Regions from separate parts of the Homo sapiens genome. Here region 1 is linked to region 2. Evidence: promoter capture Hi-C in 16 types of primary human blood cells and fetal thymus (Javierre and others, 2016). All regions are on one chromosome and are shown on one strand. The core of a region is centred on a gene start or on the middle of the fragment in contact, and the rest is flanking DNA. Distances in the headings are between cores, read along the strand shown. Region 1 holds the start of PPARGC1B (PPARG coactivator 1 beta). Region 2 holds the start of G3BP1 (G3BP stress granule assembly factor 1).

Region 1 (6,898 bases), core at 3,229-5,728, 2.0 Mb before region 2:
TTGTAGCTTATGAAACAGAAAGTGATCTGCTAGCTATTTCCCCCAAATGCGTTGGTGAGTTCATAGGTTAACCCTACAGGAAGGAGACAGCATTGCTAAACACAAGAAGAGCCTTACTTACTTCATGGGCTTTCAAGTGTCAAGGGCCCCAATCCTTGACTCTGAGACCCTCAAATGATACCATCTAGCTGATGTTGTTCTAAAGGGTCAGCCCTGAGGAGAAGTTCATCCTATGGAAGTCACCTGAGCACTCCACATACCATCTGAAGCCCTGGCTTCCAGTTCTGGCTCTGCCACTAAAGGGCTGTGTGACCTCAGCCACATTCCTCCACATTTACAGTGAAGCTGGTGGAAAACACGTTTCCACTGCCCCTCCACAGTTCTAAAGTTCTATCATTCAATGGGAGGTGGAGATGGTTCTCAGCATCAACAATACAAAGCAGGGAGATTTTTAGTTCCTCTTGGCCTGAGTCCCTGCCTCCTGGACAGAAGCTGGGAAATAGATGAGCATCTGGCTCCCTGGCCTGGGTCACAGAATCACAGAATCGTGGGTGGCTGGCAGGAAGCCTCTGCGTTTGCCAAGACCCACGTCCTACCTCCCTCCCTCATTCAACACAAATTTACTAAGCAGTTGCGTTGAGTAGAATGTGGGCAGAGATGGCGGCTGTTGTGTTCACCAATTTATCCATGGCATCTAGCGCAGTGGCTGGCACATAGTAGCTGCTCACTACATATCTGCTGAATGATGTCTCATCTCCTACAGTAGGGGAGCCTATTAAGCACAGATTCCTGGGCCCACCCCAGACCTACTGAATTGGAATCTCTGGCGTTAGTGTCCAAGTGACTGTCATGCCCTCCAGAGTCTGAGAACCACAGCTGTATGTAGTGTCTGAATAAAGCATCATCTTATTATTGGAAAGGAGAAAATGCTGATGTTTCAACTTTTGAGCATTTGTCGGTAGTGACTAAAATATTCAAGTCAAATAGGTTCATTTTGCTGTAGCCATTTCCATGGAGCCTGGGGAGCTCTGGGCTTTGCACTAGGTATGCACAGGGCTCACTTTCACTAATCTTGAGGGAGGCGAGGCTGATAAAAAAGGCAGAGAAGATAGGAGTCAAGCCACACAATGTCCAAGCTTGGCATTATTATTGCCCTTCACTTGGAAGTTATCAAACAGGACACGCGCTGCCCTTCTAGCTTTCCTGGGGAGGTTAGATGCTATGAGACTTTTCACACTCCCTTTCCAGTGTCTGTGGCTCAGACCATGTACACACCCAGGTTCAAATCTGAGCTGTTGTCTCTATGTAGTCTGGGGCCAATCACTTTAACCCCCTTTAAACTTTTGTTTCTTTAGTCATAAAATGGACATCATGATTTACCCTACGGAGGGTTGCTGGAAGGATTAGAGATGCTATAAACTCAGGCGTTGGGCACATGCTCAGTACAGAAAAGCCCTAAGGTTTGGTTGATGTCTATAAACTGCCATAACATCCGGGCTGCAGGACTCTGTAGAGGTTCATCTAGGCTAGCTCCTTCTTCTTTTTTTTTTTTTTTGAGACGGAGTCTTGCTCTGTCGCCCAGGCTGGAGTGCGATGGCACAATCTCAGCTCACTGCAGCCTCCGCCTCCTGGGTTCAAGCAATTCTCCTGACTCAGCCTCCCTAGTAGCTGGGACTACAGGCGGGGGCCACCACGCCCTGCTAATTTTTTGTATTTTTAGTGAGATGAGGTTTCACCCTGTTAGCCAGGATGGTCTAGATCTCCTGACCTCATAATCAGCCTGCCTCAGCCTCCCAAAGTGCTGGGATTATAGGCGTGAGCCACTGCGCCCGGACTGCTCCTTCTTTTTTTTTTTGAGAGGAAGTCTCGCTCTTGTCCCCAGGCTGGAGTGCGCCCAACTGACCACTCCTTCGTTTTTTTGTTTTTTGTTTTTGAGACGAAGTCTTGCTCTTACCCCCAGGCTCACTGCAACCTCCGCCTCCCAGGTTCAAGCGATTCTCCTGCCTCAGCCTCCCGAGGAGCTGAGATTACAGGCACCCGCCACCACACCCGGCTAATTTTTGTATTTTTAGTAGAGATGGGGTTTCACCATGTTGGCCAGGCTGGTCTCGAACTCCTGACCTCAGGTGATCTGCCTGCCTCGACCTCCCAAACTGCTGGGATTACAGGCGTGAGCCACCAGGCCAGGCCGCTCCTTCATTTTATAGATAAGAAAACAGCCTCAGAGAGGAGAAGCAAATGGCACAAGATCATCTAGCACCTCAGGTTTTTTGAGGGCTTTTTTTTTTTGAGATGGGGTCTCAGGCTTTTTTGAGGGCAGTGATGATCACAGGTCACTACAGCCTCAACCTCCTGGGCTCAAGTGATGCTCCCATCTTAGCCTCCAGTGTAGGTGGGACCGCGAGTGTACACCATAAACCCTGGCTAATTTTTTTTTTTTTTTTGTATTTTTTGTAAAGATGGGATCTCCCTATGTTGCCCAGGCTGTTCTCAAACTCCTAGACTCAAGTGATCCTCTGGCCTCAGCCTTCCATTGTTGGGATTACAGGCATGAGCCACCACACCCAGGCCAGGACTTTTAATCTCAATTAAGAACTTCACATTTTTCCATGGGCCAGAGGAACTTCAAATTCCTCCATGAGGCTGAGACTCTGTGAGCAACCTGTGATGAAGGAATTTCTGGGACAATATGCTTTTCAAAAGGACGCTAGATATCTCAGGTGAGGCCCTTTCTCACCTAAATTTCTTGCCAGCCAGAAGACTGTTGTGAGGATGTAGTGACTGGTGAGAAAGTCCCTGACGTTGGGCAATGTGTGGCTTTTCTATCAACACGGGAGTTTTAAAAACAAAAAAGCCTCTGGGAAAGTGCTGTCAGGCCTTCCCTGGCAAGGCAGTGAATGGCACTGCAGCTCTGCAAGGACCAAGGCTAGAGATGGCTGGCTTTGGGGACACTCCCAAGTTTGGCCTCTGGGCTATGAAGGACACACCACCAGTCAGGGGCCAGGCTGGGCCTGGAAGGGACATCTCCAGAAACCATCCCACAGGACTCTGACTCTGGTGCCCAGGGGAGTAGCAAAAAAAATGGGGTCTTGGGAGAATTCAAGTCCTTAGTGCTAATGGTGATGACATTGGTGATGTTGGTGATGATTATAGTGATGATGGGCATTTCCTACCTGCAAGATTCAGGGCCAGGCAACTGACTTTACATGAATTGCATTATTTCATTCAATCCATCCTCACAAGATCCCTATGTGGAGCAGTACCATTGCTATCCCCACTTTACAGATGAGGAAACTGAGGCTCAGAGAGGTTAAGTAAATGACCAAGGGCACATAGCTAGTTTGCACCAGGATTCAAATCTGAATATACTGGAGTCCAAAGTACGCCAGCAGCCTGTAAGTGCTGGAAAAAAGGCAAGTAACATTGGCTAGTGCCTTTAAGGGATATATATTTCTTATTCCCATTTTAACAGAAGGGAAACAGAACAGAGCGCTTAGCGTATTCTCCATGAGGTCAGGCACTGTGCCAAGCACTGTACATATATTATCTCCTCAATCATCAAAACATCCCTATGAAGTTGGTGGTTTTTTGGTCCCCATTTGTGTAGATGAGGAAACCGAGGCCCGAGACTAAATGACTTGCTGTGGTTCCAAATCAGGCAGTGTGACTCCAGGGCCCACGCTCTTCACCCCCTGAATTGCTGGATACTGGAACAAGATGTTCCAGTATCCAGATGCAGGGTCTGAAACAGAACCCAGGACTCCTAACTCCTAGTCTAGGGCTCTGAGGCTAGATGCAGGCTCTCTGTTGGAATGCATTGTTCCTTAAAAGCACACTGGCCTTAAGCCCAAAGAGTGAAATCACGGCCTGCGGTTCTGGGAACCTCAGACTGGAGAAGGAAGCTTTTGCCCTGGTGTTCAAGTCTCAGCAGGTGTGCTGGGGACTCTCCCTCTATTTCCTTCTCCCGCTGGAAGGGAGCCCTTGTTAGGTGGGCAGGGTGGGGCAGCCCTTATGAGTGTAGGGTGGGAGGAGGGCAGGAGGCAGGCGTGCCCAATAAAACAGACCTAAAGCTTCCCGCCTTCTTGCCTTCATCCAGGCAGTGCCCTCATCTCCTGTTTGGTAAACAACAGGGCATGATGATGAGAGTTCAAGGTTGGAGTCAGGAGGTCTGAGTTCTGGTTCTGGCTCAGGCAGTCACTCCATGTACACATTGACAGTCAGTTTCCTTATCTGTATAATGTGTGGTGGTGGTGGTGGCAGAGAATCAAAATTCTCCAGCTTTTTCAGTTAACACATCATCTATTAAGTGCCTACTATGTGCCAGAAACGGCAGATACAGCAAGTGCAAAAGCAGATTTAGGCCCTGCTTTCATGGTGTTAGAGTCTTGTAAGGAGAGATACAAAGATTAAGTCTTCATTGCAACAAATGTAAAACGGCAACTGTGACCAGCTTTTAGAGAAAAAAGGCCTGCTGGTGGAGCTAAGGGAGCCCATGATGGTGGAGGTGGAAGGAGAGGAAATGGCTTGACAGTCCAAGGGGTAATAGGGAAAGATGCCCCGAAGAGATTACTAGGTGAGTGGCAAGCCCGTTGTGAGCGGGCCTGCGGAGGCTGGCAGGAGCCCAGCCCCTTCATGCATTGTGGGCATTGGTAAGAGAACTCATTGGAGTTTTTTGGGGGAAGGGTGCTGGGGACGATGGCAGAGAGAGATATATGATCAGGTTTAGCACAGAATATAGGCAAACGCACCCTTCAAGTAAAAGATAAAAATGCCTCCTCCTCCAAGGAGACTTCCTTGATTTCTTTGCTTTTGATCTATGGTATTTCTCCCTCCTTCTCTGGCCTTGTAGCCTGGGTAGAGAAACAGTCCTCCAGGGGAGTAAGACCTAAGCTTTCCCTTCCTGCAACTGATGTGCGCTGTAGCTTTGAACGAGGTCCTAGGTATATACATACATACATACATACATACATACATACATACATATATATATACATACATATATATACACATACATATATATACATACATATATATACACATACATACATACATATATACACATACATACATACATACATATATATACACATACATACATATATATATATATATATATATATTTTTTTTTTTTTTTTTTTTTCAGGAGGGATATGAAGAGTGACTTACAGGCGCCCGCCACCATGCCTGGCTAATTTTTTTTGTATTTTCAGTAGAGACGGGGTTTCACCATGTTGGCCAGGCTGGTCTCAAACTCCTGACCTCAGGTGATCCACCCGCCTCGGCCTCCCAAAGTGCTGGGATTACAGGCGTGAGCCACTGCGCCCGGCCTTCGAACGAGGTCCTATTCCTTCTCGAGCCTCAGTTTCCCCAGCTGTGCAGAAGAAGCAGGTTGTCTCGCAGGACCCGCCCAGCGCTAACGCAACGTGATTCGCTCTGGCAGGAGCCGGGGGCTGCCCGCATTGCTGCGCAGGCATCGGGCTGCTGGCTGGGGCACCGCCACCTGGCTGCCTGCGCTTTACCCCTTGCTGAGGGCTGCGTGAGCTGGTCGCGGCGCCAGACACGGCGCAGGAAAGTGGGTGAGCGACCCCCGGCTCCCGCGGGCGCCGCGCGGCCCCGCCCCCGCAGCTAGCGGCCCTGCGGCAGCCGGGGGCTCGAGCTCCGCCCTCCGCCTCCCGCCGGCCTCACTCCCTCCTCCCTCCTCCCTTGCTCGCTCGCTGGCTCCCTCCCCCCGGGCCGGCTCGGCGTTGACTCCGCCGCACGCTGCAGCCGCGGCTGGAAGATGGCGGGGAACGACTGCGGCGCGCTGCTGGACGAAGAGCTCTCCTCCTTCTTCCTCAACTATCTCGCTGACACGCAGGTACGGCCGGCTGGGGCTGCGGGCCCGGGGCCAGGGGTGCTGAGCTGCGGGGGCCGCAGCTGCAGCCGCGGAGGCCGGGAGGCAGCGGTGGGAGCCCTGGGGTAACTGGGGGTTCCAGGCTGCAGAGCCCCCCTTCCAGGCGCCCTGCGATGCGCTCCGTTACCGGGGCAGGGAGCCGGAGGTCTCCCGGCGCGTGCCGGAGCGCTGGGGGCGCTACGGCCGCTGGGGAGGGTCTAGCCTTGGCCGCTTGGAGTCTGCCACCCCGCGGGCAAAACTGGGGGGTACCGCGCTTCCTTTGGGAGGTGGAGGCGCGCCACGGTGTGGGGTACCCTCAGGCTGGCGCTGGGTGCTGGAGGCGCGCCGTCAGCGCCCGGCACTTGCTGCCGTACTTTCACGTGGACTTGTGGCCCCGGCACGGGTGCATGCCCGGGTCTCCGGAGTCCCCTAGTCCTCCAGGCTGTAGTCCCCAGAGTGCTGTTGCTGGCCCCCCGCGGCTTTCTACCCGCGCCCGCAGCGCGGAGTTTCCTGCCAGTTGCCGGCTAAAGGCATAAGGGTCTGCGGGGCACGTGGACATGCGGGCGGAGACAGCGTCTTCCTGGTTTCGCTATCGGGCGGAGCCCCCTGGGGGGAAAAGCCAGGCTGGATGGGGGCGGAAGGACTGTCTGGGGGCGCCTGGGTCCCCCTGCGGTGCGCGGCCCCGGTGCGCGCTCCACGATGCAGGGGGAAGGGAAGGCGAGGCGGAGTCCCAGGCACTGGCTGAGCCCGGGAGCCCCACTGGCGACACGCGCGTGACAGGAGAGGGTGCTCTGGTGTGCCGGGGCGCGGGGGAGCGAGGAAGCTGGTGGCTTGGAGACTGGGAGAGGGGTGCTGCTGGGACAAGCAGCCACCAAAAATGTCAGCACGAGGCGTGCGCGGCCCCCACCCCTTCCCCCATTTTCCCCACCCAATGCCTGTTGCAAGCATAAAGTTTGGCTCCAGAGTTAGGGCTTTTTCTCTGGGCGCCCGGCTGCGGGTCATTGGGAAGCTGAGGATGCGGCGGAA
Region 2 (6,711 bases), core at 86-2,585:
CCCCGCGCAGGGAGGCGAGCGGGCCCGGCTCCCCAGAGGCCGAGGCCGGCGCCCGTGCTCCTTCAGCTCGGCCTCTCTCCCCCGACATAGGCGCTCCACATGCTTCATTTCCAAAATTCTCAGCAAAACTCCGCGGGAGACCCTGGTCACATGCCTGGAACGAGAACAAACCGGGGCGTGTCTGTGCCGGACGGCTGGGAACCAAAGCTATTTCCATAGAAATAGGGCCGGCCAGCCTTGAGTTGTAGCCCCGCCAGTGCCTGAAACGCCAGGAGGAGGGGACGAGTTGCCTTTTAAAGGCGTAGCGACGAGAATAAGCCCCCACCCGCGGCAATTCGAGGCTGAACAATAGTGGTGCAGCTCGGGACGTGGTGCGAGGGCCCACACTCCACTGGAGCACGCGCGGACCACCGTGCCTCAGCTGCCACAAAGGGAGCCTCGCCACACGCCCGCGGCCGCCTCGCAGCGCCCGCCAAGAAGCGCCTGGCGGAAGGGCGCACTCTCAGGCCTTCCACCGGCGACCTTCCGGCGGGAGCCTGCGGGCGGCGCAGGAACGACCCTCCTTCCTCTGCCCCGCAGCAGTGCTGAGTAATGGTGAGAGCAGCAAGGCCCTTGGCCGCCGCACGTAAGAAAAAAGTTGTAATAAAAAGAAAACAACCCGGGAAACTTTACTAGTTGGTTCGCCAGGTACAAACCTATGCGGAAAAGGCGGGGTACAGGCCTCGGAGGCCGGACCCAACCAGTCAGGGAAAGAAAGAGGGCAGAAGCCGCAGGCTGCACAGCCTCACAACCGCCCAGAGGGCACGGCGGCCCTGGGGCTCGGTCTCTTCCGAGCAGAGCAACCTCCGTGTCTATCAGCTCCTTCCGGCGTTGCGATTGGCCACAGGCTGTCTTGGCCTCTCGGACGCCCGCCTCCTAGTTGCTAGGGGTTTACTTCCCCAAAGTACACGGGCCCCACCTTGTGGCGCAACCGCTCCTGCATGGAAAACGGATCTCCGCCCAGGGGAAGACGTGTTAACGAATAAGAGCAGCCCCACACATTTATTGGCTACTTTGAGTATCAGTCAAAGAACTGCTCACTCGCCTTTCTATTGTACTTTTCGGTTATTGGTCTCTCTTAGTGCCGATCTGTTACTAGGGAAACGAGATCCTCACAGTCTCATAGGCAGGAGTCAAAGCCAATCAAGAGCCACGCCTTCATCCCCGAGTCAGTGCCCAATTACTGTTCGAAGAGCCCTGAGGACGCGGTCGGGATTGGTCATCCCGTCGCCCGACCTGGCCGCAACAAGTTAGGGTGAGTGGCAGTTATATAGACCGGCGGCGGAGCACGCGTGTGTGCGGACGCAGTTGCGTGAGGGGTTTGTACTATCCTCGGTGCTGTGGTGCAGAGCTAGTTCCTCTCCAGCTCAGCCGCGTAGGTACGCCGGGGTGTGGGCGGGGCAGGGAGGCCAGAGGACTAAGCCGAGCCGCAGCACTTGTGAGAGGGAGAAGTCTGAGTGGCGCTCGCGGCGGCCGCGCCAGTCGCGTCCCCCACCCCAACCCCCACCCCAACGGCCGCAGGCGCGCGCGGCGGACGGACGGGCGCGCGGCGGCTCCTCGCTCCCGCTCCCGTCCCGGCTGGGGCGCGTGGCCGTGTCCGCCGCGTGCGCGTGCTGCGTCCAACGGCCTCGCGGGGCAGGAGTAAGCCGCGGCCGCCGCCTGGGCCCCAGGGCGGTCTCTGGGGCCAGGGGTCCCGCGCCCAGCGTTTCCCGCCCGCCACCCTCTCCGCCACGCGCCCGCGGCACCTTTTCCTCCCCTGGCCAAGGGATCCAGTCGGTTCGGACCAGAAGGAGGCTTTCGTTTAGGGTGGGGGCAGCACTAAAGTCTGATTGGAGTCTTGCGGTCCGCGCGTCGCAGAAGCGCCTTCGGTTTTGCAGAGAGCAAAGAGGGAGCAGCGAGTGCACGGAGTGGTAGTAACAACCAATGTTCTTTCCACGCCCTCACTGTGTGTCCGGCACTGTGCGGAGCCACTTTTCTGCCTTTCATTTGATTCTTGCAGTGAGCTGGCGAGGTGGGTACGGCTATCCTCCTTCCTTAGCGGCCCAAGGCACGGGTTTGGAGAGCGGGGTCACAGGCACGCACGGGAAGGGCGGGGATTTGTTGACGCCGGGCCCTCTGACTCCGAGCTCCCCGCTTCCCAAGCCTGTTTTTAGTCTTTGCCCCCAGAGCACTTGTCCCTCGGGGCAGCATCAGCCTCAAAAGGCCACCTGCCGAGAAGGCTGCAGCGGCATTTGTACTTGGGCTAGTTCTGGGCTTCCAGGGAGACAAGGGTTGGAAGTGGGAATGTGACAAAGGAAAAGGGTTTGGGCTTCCTTTCTACGTGTACTTGTACAGGCCCTGGGTAGATGTGCCGCCACCGTAGCTTCTGGAAAAAAGTAGGGAAAACGATGAGTAAGTGCAAATGAACATGGACTGTGTTCCTCATCGGGTTTGAATCTCAGATTGCTGATGGGAAATTCCCGCCAGCGGGAAGTTAGGCTCCGGTTTTAGACGTTGAATTTTTTTTTCTCTACTTTTTTTTTAATTGGAGGAGACTTTTGCAGAAAGACCTTGAGAAGATTCACTTTATAGTTGAAGGGAATGAGGTGCAAAGCGACGAATTTAAGATCTCACTAGCATCTGTGGGTTAAAATACGGAATTGGAATAGAAAGGTTGGCGCCCAGTTACAGTATACTATTTGGACCTCTGTGGAGCGTGTCATGCTGGATGAATTACTGGTGTTGGAGATGTGTTGGAAAAAACAACTGTGACAGTCGAGATCTGTGGATGAAAGTTTGTGTACACTCCGTTTATTTAGCATTTACTCTGCTGGGTTCTTGTGTATATGCAGAAACAAGATGCTTTTCTTCAGGGACTGGAGCTTATATTTTTCTAGTAGTTACCATCTTTTAGATTATTTAAAAGCCAACATACTCCTTGGCTTAGTGAAATAAATCTTCTATGTTATAGAAACACTTCTATAAACATAAAGATTTCTATAATCGTGTTCTGGAAACCCTTTCTATAAACATGTTTCTATAACAGTATTATAATAATGTTCCAAGTAACATTTACTTGGAACTTTGCTGGTGTGGCGATTCCGGTTACTTGCCCTTACAGACTGGTTAACTATGGAATTAGCATTTTAACTTAGACTTAAAGTTGAGCAATTTAAGTTGTCAAATGGAAAAACACTAGAATGACCTACATTTAAACTGTTTAAGCTTGAGTCCAGCTAATTTTATTACTGCTTGAGGCAAAATAGAATGAAATTACCTTACACATTATTGAGGGAAAATTTCGTTAGTTTCTACTTAAAATATTAAAAAAATACAGTTCTTGGCCTCAGGCAAATGGTTATCACTTGGGCAGGAACATGAAAATTACGTGATTATTTCACAAACTGGTGCTCTAACTGATTACTTGTGCATTTATCAGGAACAAGTGAATTGAAGCAAATTGTGGTAATGTAAGGCTTGGCAAGGCTGCCCTACATCCCTACCAAGTCATACGTCAGTTTTGTTGGAGCTGCTTACCGGTACAAAAGTCTAAGCTTTTGTACCTCTTACAGGTAGAAAAGTAGACAGTTCTTTGTTTAACTCAGTTTGCTGTTCCTGAGCTGACACTGCACCAGGGGAACATTAGGAGATTTTGGTAATGTTTGTTTGTGACCTACTTAGAGCAGTTTTTCTTTTGTAACTTATGGTTTTTTTTTTTCCCACTCGTTCTAGTATTTTGCATAGAAAGTGAACGGCAGAAGGCAGTTTTAAGTTTTTGTAAAAGTTTGTGAATTTTATATCGTCCTTAGGACTGATGGGGCTAGTGTTAAAAGATAAAATTTAACATAAAGCTTACATTTGTGACTAAAGCCAATTTTATATTTTTTTTCTTTATTTTTGTCAGTCTGATAAAACTGCCCACTTGGTCTTTTAACATTTTGCAAATTGATTTTTTTTTTAACTTTCAGAATTTAAATAGGCATTGTATGTTTGTTTAATTATATTGTGCTTTGGCTTCCTTGGACGAAACTATTACTGACTTTACAAAGAAGAATGGATAATTGTGGAAGTAGGTAGGTCAAAAAAAAAAAGGAAAGCCTCGCCCGCCCCCCAGTAATTTGTCAAAAGCAAGTGGGAAAAATCTCTGGTAGTGCAGTACTGCCCTTCCAGTACTCCAGTACAAGCCCTGGAGTTGAATTTAGATTCAGCAACTATTATCTTACATGTAGTTGGTGATCACAATGTGGTGGCACACTAGGTTTATAATTTTATATCTCAGAAATCAGCTATTTACTTTTTTTAAAAAAGTATTCTTGGACATCCTGTCTGTCTTTAGTTGGGAAGGTCAAGTTGCAAGCCAGGTGATAGGGTTAAGAGTAGGAATAATTCACACACACGAATAGTGTCTTAATATTCTGTCTTACAAGGTGGAAAGCAATTTCAAAAAAATTGCCCTCACAGCCTGTAGCTTAGTAAATAAGGTCTTTAGGCGACTTTGTGATAGAGTCCCTCTTCTGTCAGGTGGCCAGTCTGTCATGTAATAAGTTCTTGGTATGTGTGTTGTATCTTAGGTACTTAATCAAAAGTAAAGATTAAAGATGATTGACAGAAATTTGGCTTCCTGGATGGTATACACATCTACTTAGTAGGGATGTAATCTTTGGTGGCTATTAACTTCACTGGCTATATAAAGCATCATTATGTATTTGTGTAACCTTTTGCATATTTAGAGAGTGCTTTCACACATCTTTGGTATTACCATACTTTTACTAAAAAGTGAATTGGAGCTCTGAAACCGAATTGTCAAAACTATTTTGAAAAGCATGTGGTACCTAATAGGGTACTATAGCCAGCTTATTTCCTTAATTGAAAAATCTTAGAGGGATTTTGAATCTGGAATGTATGAATGTGACACCTGCCTGCCCTTGCAGGCTTCTCCCATATGCTGTTTATGCAAAGCCATAGGCTGTGCCTTAAGTACACCCTTGTTTCTGCACTGAGGTTGCCTAGATTTCCCTGGAGTGTATCCACCTGTCTTGATCTGTTTAAGAATTTTGCGGATGAGCATTAGTATTAACTGTAACATATCTTTTCACGTGATGAGAAAGAACAAAGATTTTTTTAAATTGTGAACCTGAGTAGGTTTTAACTTTGGAGTGGGGAAGGGATACACTAAGATAAAAGATAGTTGTTAAGTATTCTGATTCCTGAAGTTTTTTTTCTTTCAGGAAAACAGTATTTTTGAGATAAAGTAAGATTTGTGGAAGAGTTGCAATAGAGAGGTCTTGAATACCCATTATCCACTGTTAACATCTTATGTAATCCAAGTACATTTAACAGAACTGAGAAATTAACATCGATAAAATACTGTTAATGAAAGACTTTATTTGGATTTCCTTAGTTTTTCTACTAATGTCCTTTTTCTGTTCTAGGATCCAGTCCAAGATGCCACATTGTATGTAGTCTCCTGATCTGTGTCAGTTTCTGTCTTTCCTTTTGTCTTTCGTGACCATGACACTTGATCTCATTTGGATTTGATGTTAAGGATTAGACTGAAGTTACAGATTTTTGGGGGAAGAATACCACAGAAATTACCCTTATCACATCAGATTGGGGGTCCATAATATATAACTGGTTGAATTTAACCTGATGATTTGGTTCAGGTGGTATCTGTCAGGTTAGTGTTTTTTTCCCCTTTAGATACTATTCCTTAGATGCTAGTCACCAAGTCCAGCTCACACTCAAGGAGAGAGGGGAATTAGGCTCTACTTTCTAGAGGGAGGAGAATGTGAATTTGTGGAAGTATATTAAAGCTACTGTTATTATTTTGGGGGAGATGCTTCGAAGCCATGGAAATAAAGTTCCCCTCCTTAATTTTAGCATTTTAATGGATCTCGTCTGCAGCTATTATTACTTCGGGGTTCTAATGGTGATTTTTTTTATTTTCCTCATTCCTTCTACAGTATAAATTTTCTGTGAGGAAGATTTGTGTATTCTTCATGTTTTTTCTTTTTTTCATTTATATCACTATAGACCACGGATATTAATTTTATTCTTTGGGTTGTAATCCACAATTATCCTTGCTGATGTTTACTTATTTTTGATTATTATTTATTTTATATTTTTATAAAATATCGTCCAGGCTGTCTCACACTCCTGGGCTCAAGCAATCCTCTTGTCTTGGCCTCTCAAAGTGCTGGGATTACAGGTGTGAGCCACTGTGCTGGCCACAGTTTATTTTGTTGTTCATGTTGTTCCAGCTTTTTTTTTTTTTTTTGGCTCCTTTGTCCTTTTGACACTTCCCTATCTTATCTGTTTTTTAAAAGCATGTTTTTTCTTTCATTAATTACCAGGTATTTCAGGCTCATCTTGCATTTTGCCTGTCTCAGGTCCAGAATCAACCATTTCTCCAAGGAGGCGTCAGGAAGAATTGTGAAGGGAGGTGACAGGTGGTAAATGCGAAGAGTTTGGAAAAATAGATTGACAGTAGGCCCAGTGATGTTGATACTTTTCTTGCTCTGAGCACAGATGTTGGCTTCTGTATTCATGTTACTCCAGTTCTGGGAAAAGATTTTGTTTCTAAATTCCCACGATTTAGAGAACCAGATATCAAATGTTTGAATACATGACATAATCCTGAAACAAAATTTACAAAAATTTAATATATTCTCAAGTTAGTACACACAAACACTT

The links. The method cuts DNA at HindIII sites, captures the fragments that hold promoters and counts their contacts. A CHiCAGO score of 5 or more calls a contact.
Region 1: a contact is called between a fragment that was not itself captured here and the fragment with the promoter of G3BP1 in region 2, in 1 of 17 cell types (fetal thymus). The highest score is 5.1, in fetal thymus.

Annotation. Positions count from the first base shown.
Region 1 is chr5:149,724,564-149,731,461 of GRCh38, forward strand. It overlaps PPARGC1B (PPARG coactivator 1 beta), which reads left to right and starts at 5,747. Exons shown (of 12, transcript NM_133263.4): 1 at 5,747-5,857. The coding sequence starts at 5,780. RefSeq lists enhancers at 5,346-5,996, 6,235-6,354, 6,365-6,414 and silencers at 5,405-6,084, 6,885-6,898. The HindIII fragment of the contact is 820 bases long and covers 4,069-4,888 here.
Region 2 is chr5:151,770,619-151,777,329 of GRCh38, forward strand. It overlaps G3BP1 (G3BP stress granule assembly factor 1), which reads left to right and starts at 1,336. Exons shown (of 12, transcript NM_005754.3): 1 at 1,336-1,418. It overlaps LOC100652758 (a long non-coding RNA gene), which reads right to left and starts at 1,558. Exons shown (of 2, transcript NR_132345.1): 1 at 1,085-1,558; 2 at 1-154. RefSeq lists enhancers at 1-144, 523-752, 1,010-1,304 and silencers at 1,513-1,842, 1,893-1,962. The HindIII fragment of the contact is 14,997 bases long and covers 1-3,241 here.